Regions from separate parts of the Homo sapiens genome. Here region 2 is linked to region 1. Evidence: promoter capture Hi-C in human tissues and cell types (Jung and others, 2019). All regions are on one chromosome and are shown on one strand. The core of a region is centred on a gene start or on the middle of the fragment in contact, and the rest is flanking DNA. Distances in the headings are between cores, read along the strand shown.

The links. Contacts are between HindIII fragments. The study calls those that stand out against the background at their distance.
Region 2: a fragment that was not itself captured here is called in contact with the fragment with the promoter of ETS2 in region 1 in 1 of the 25 tissues and cell types used here (dorsolateral prefrontal cortex).

The regions. Positions count from the first base shown.
Region 1 is chr21:38,804,642-38,807,229 of GRCh38, forward strand. It overlaps ETS2 (ETS proto-oncogene 2, transcription factor), which reads left to right and starts at 1,288. Exons shown (of 10, transcript NM_005239.6): 1 at 1,288-1,479. RefSeq lists enhancers at 87-587, 121-260, 441-500, 511-670 and silencers at 781-1,110, 1,131-1,200, 1,391-1,680, 1,791-1,890, 1,911-2,010. The HindIII fragment of the contact is 2,481 bases long and covers 201-2,588 here.
Region 2 is chr21:38,529,047-38,531,634 of GRCh38, forward strand. All of the region lies in intron 1 of LOC105372802 (a long non-coding RNA gene), which reads left to right. It also overlaps a transcript of ERG not described here. Among named protein-coding and RNA genes, the nearest start is that of ERG, 32 kb to the left of the region's middle. The HindIII fragment of the contact is 4,107 bases long and covers 1-2,588 here.

The DNA.
Region 1 (2,588 bases), core at 38-2,537:
CCTTCGGGGACCCAGAAACATTAAGGTGCACCGATATCTCAATTATCCGGATAACTCTAGACCTAGAGTCACCATGGAAACCTAGAACCCTGAGTCACAGAGAAGCTGGGCCATTCCTCTCCCTTCCCGGTGGTGCCGCAGTTCTTGAGATGTGAGCAGCTTTCAGCCCCGTGGCCTCGCCTAAGCTGGGGTTTCCTATTTCATCCACAACTTCAGGAATCTAAACTTTCCTGCAAAATATTGAGCATGTGACCTGAGTCCAAACAGCCATGGACTCAAGCACCTTCTGATAAAAACGGAAACCACAGTGTAGGGGGTGGTTTTGACCAGGGTTTCGGAGTCAGATAAACTCAGGTTTCCACCTTGAATTTCTCATCAATCTGACGTGGCAGGTTATTCATCCTAAGGTTCAGTTCCCACCTGTGTAAAGTGGGAGCCGCAAGTCCTCCGAGAGTGACGATGATGTGCGTGGAGTGCCCAGCCCAGATTGAAGCGCGGCCAAGGCGGGTCGCTATCTGGGCACCGCTCAGCTCCAGAGGGCGCCACTCCCGCGGAGCCTGCGGGATCGGGGCTTCCCGGGAGCAGCGCGATCAGCACCACGACTCGGGGACACAGCCAGGGCCCGGTTTCTACAGGAAGCGCCTCATTTGGAGCCTTTTTGTGATAGAATGATCATTAGTCCTAAGCCCATTCAGAGGTTCAAGAATGGGGTCGGCTCAATTTCAGGGCCTTATTACCCAAGCCCGGCTGCCCTTCGGTGCCACCAGCACCACTGCTCCGTCGCTGCGGAATTCCAAAGGCAGGTTTGGCGTTAGGGCCTTGGCCCCAGAGAGGACGCCGAGCGCTCCACGGAAAGTCTCCGCCCGGCTCCCAGGGCGCACACTCGCGCGCACGTGGGGCCGAGGCCCTGCTCCCGGGGCCTCAGGGCCAGCCGGCGAGGGACCCAGCCGAGTGACAGCAGGAGGCGGAGGGAAGGTTGGGCCGGAAGGTGTCAGCCCCGCCCCGCGCTCCCTCGCCGCCTCCGCCCTCCTCTTCTCTCCCCTCGTGCGTTCCCTCTCCTCTCCCTCCGCTCCCCCAACCCTCCTGCTGCCCCCTTCCCTCTCCTCCCGCTTCTCCCCATCCTGCCTACCTCCCTTCCCCTCCTCTTCTCTCTCCTCCCCTTCCCTCCCCTCTCTCTTCTCTCCTCCCTCGTTTCCTCCCCTCCCCTCCACTCGGCCGTCCCTCCTTCCTCCTCCCTCCTCCCTCCTCCTCCCGCTCCTGAAGAGCGCGCCGCGTGGGGGACGGCCCGGTTACTTCCTCCAGAGACTGACGAGTGCGGTGTCGCTCCAGCTCAGAGCTCCCGGAGCCGCCCGGCCAGCGTCCGGCCTCCCTGATCGTCTCTGGCCGGCGCCCTCGCCCTCGCCCGGCGCGCACCGAGCAGCCGCGGGCGCCGAGCAGCCACCGTCCCGACCAAGCGCCGGCCCTGCCCGCAGCGGCAGGGTAAGAGCTGGGCCCGCAGAGAGCGCCCGGCGCGCGGCTCCAGTCCCATGGAGGGTCACCCGGGGCCTGGGCGGGGGTCGCGGGGGGCACTGACACGCAGATCTCGGGGCGCTGCCGGGGGTGCAGGTGGGGGTGGCGGCTGCTGCGAGGACTCTAGGGGCGCGCGTCTGAGTTCCGCGCCGGCTCGTTTTCCGGTTATGGAGTGGCCTCCGGGGCTGGCGGGGTCGGCCGGGGGGTTCCTGCGTGCTAGGGCCGCTGTCTTCGGGGTCGCCTAGCGGCGGGCGCGGCCAGGGCGCGCTGGCTTGTTTCGCTCGCTTTTGTTTTTAAAAGGAAACGCAGGCCTGGTAGGGGGTCCTGCCCAGTGGATGTCCCGGCGAACATGATTTCGCGAACGGGAGTGGGGGCACAGGAGAGCGTGTCCGAGGTGGCCTGGCGCCCCGGCTTTGAGGGTGACTTCCTGGAGCGGCGCCGGGCCCGGAGGATCTGGGGCGCCCAAGACACCTGAAGGCTGCGGCACCGCGGGAACCTGCGGGGCGCGGGGTGCCATGGTCACCTGCTCGCCGCGTCCAGGGCCCGGGCTGGGGACCCCTCGGTCGTGCGAGGAGAGCGTGGGGAACCTGTCGGAAATGAGATCTGGTTGCGCTGGGCTGCCTTTATTTTCTCGTTCCTACAGCATTTGAATGAAGAGGTAACTGAGTGTTTGCTTGTGTGTGTTTGGGTTGCGTGTGTGTTATCCTATTTTATTTTTTACGGCAGGAGACCTTTTATGTTAGCCTGTACACAATTTCAGGGTAGCCTAAAACAGTAGTTGACGCGCTAGTTATTTAGAAAGTAAAGAAATGAGCAGTCCCCTTTGGAGACAGGAGTAATTTATTTTAATTCGCCAGTAAGAGATTATATTTGTTCCATACAATGGAAGCGCCTGTGCGTTATCTGCCTGCCCACACCACCACCAATCAGAGAGATAAATCTCCACGTTAAGCTTTATTAAAATTCTGAGTAGTAGCGCAGCACAGTAAATGTTAGCACCGACCATCCGCAGGGAAATGCTCAGATACTCATTTCTGGGATTAGTCATTCATCTCTCTAAACTGATCGCTTTCAAAGCG
Region 2 (2,588 bases), core at 48-2,547, 280 kb before region 1:
TCTAGAACCACCAAGAAGCCAGTGTGGCCACAGCAGAGTGAGCCAGTGGTGCTGGAGGCAGGTGAGATCTTGAAGGGCCTTGGCAACATGAACAGGAGCTTGGATTTTATCCACATTGCCGAGGGAAGTATGAGGTGGTGTTTAGCAGGGCATAAATCTCATCTGATCTGTACTTTGAGGAAAACACTCTGACTTCTGTGTGGAGAACAGTCTATAGGAAGCCAAGAGGAGAGGCAGGGAGATGAGGGAGGGGTGACTTCAGTCTCCAGGAGAATGAGCTAGTGATGTGAATTAAGGTGCTGGTGGTGGAGGAAGTGAGGTGGAGAACTGGACACTGGGATCTATTTTGAAGAGGGAGCCTACAGAACTTGTTGGTGGATGGCTATGAGGGAAAGAGGATTAAAGAATGATGCTAGGCATTTGGGCTTAAACAAACCCCTGAGTAAATGGTTATCCTATTATTAATACTAAGATGGGTAATGCTAGGGAAGGAGTAGCCTTGGGGAGCAGTGATGAGTTATTTTCTTAGAGAGAAGCCACGTTACCTATAGGAGGCTCAACAGAGTATCAAATTAGAATAAAATATCTAATGTTCTGATTTGTGTCTTTATTTTTTCCATTAAGATACACATGGCTGGCCAGGCGCGGTGGCTCATGCCTGTAATCCCAGCACTTTGGGAGGCTGAGGCAGGCCGATCACCTGAGGTCAGGAGTTTGAGACCAGCCTGGCCAACGTGGTGTTACCCCGTCTGTATTAAAAATACAAAATATTAGCCAGGCATGGTGGTGGGCACCTGTAGTTCCAGCTACTCAGGAGGCTGAGGTAGGAGAATCACTTGAACCCAGGAGGCAGAAGTTGCAGTGAACCGAGATCACGCCATTGCACTCCAGCCTGGGTGACAAGAGCGAAACTCCGTCTCAAAAATAAAAATAAACAAAAACCATGGGAAAGAACAATTGAGGAAACTGGGGACTTGTCCTGGAACAGAAGACACGAGGACTTTTGGTTTTTTAGTTTTGTTTTTGTTTTTGAGACAGAGTCTTGCTCTGTTGCCTGAGCTGGAGTGCAATGGTGCGAACTCAGCTCACTGCAACCTCCGCCTCCTGTATTCAAGTGATTCTCCCACCTTTGCCTCCTGAGTAGCTGAGACTATAGGCGCACACCACCATGCCCAGCTAATTTTTGCATTTTTAGTAGAGAGAGGGTTTCATCGTGTTGGCCAGGCTGTCCTCAAACTCCTGACCTCAAGTGATCCACCCGCCTCGGCCTCCCAAAGTGCCGGGATTGCAGAAGTGAGCCACTGCGTCCAGCAAGAATGAGGTTTGAAGGGAGGCATGATTGTGTTCTCTTCAAATAGTTGAAAGGTTCCATTTGAAAAAGGGATTTACTTATTCCTATGGTTCTAGTAAGTTGCAGAGGGTGGATCTAAGACCATTGGGTGAACTTTACAGAGAGGCCAGAAAGCCTTCTCCAGGGGAAGAAAGTCAAGAAAAGGTCTCAAAACTGTCTGGCAGAATTCTGCACAGGAGAGTCCTCAATTCGGTGTAGAATTGGCAAGTATAATAACTGTAAATCCCTCTCAATCTACCATCTACATCATTAGGCGACATCTTCATTTCCTGAAAATTCCAACACATGAAGGCTCACTTACTATCAAGATGAGCAAGTTTGTGCTACATAGTGAATTTGATTTCAATAGGACTCATTTTATACCTTTTAAGAGTCTTTAAAACGTTGAAAATGTAAAGATCTGCAAGAGCAACTGATCTTCAAAGTCCCGTCGAGTCACAGGATTTTGTAATGATGTCTAAAGAGGAAAATTCCCATTTCAGAAAAGGCTCAATAGTATTTAATAGTTAGCTCAAAAGGACGAATAAAGTTCTACATGGGAAGCTGCTGAACTACAGTCAGGCCAAACCTTCATACTCGGAGAAGATGACTGGGCCTGTAGACACAGATATTGATGATAAATCATCACAAACCACAGCTTTCCTTAATTGGGGTGGTGGGCAGGGAGAGCAGGCTTCAGGTTGGCCTTCCTCCAGCAAGGGCACACACACAAAGGGGACCTGAACACGTGGAGCTTATGGTCAGGAAGCCTGAAGTGCCTGACCCAGCACATCTGGTGACTAGTAGTGTAGATTCCCCACAGAAGGAATGACAAGGCGTCATTATTCAAAGTGACCTTCCCTCCATTGGAATAATCAGAAACAGCTCACAAATAAAGTAATCTGTAAGATGCTTCATCTTCTCTAGGTAACCTCTCCCCAACATGATGACATCACTTCACATGAGGCGACATGGTTTTGTGAGGACTTTTCTTTCCTTCCAAGTTTGGAATCTGGCTGAAGGCTAAAATCACCATTTACAGTGTTTGAGCCCTCCTTCACACTTTGAAGAAGGGTCTGTGTAAATAGCCATTCCTACTTCTCAGACTCGCCAGAGGCAAAACCTGTTTTGCTTTGGTAGTACACGCTCTTCCTTAACTGGTAAAAGACTTTAAAAAAAAATAAGATGCCATTTTTAATTGTTTCATAAATCTGGCTTAGATATATTAAGGAAATTGCTATTTTATATGTAGAACAGC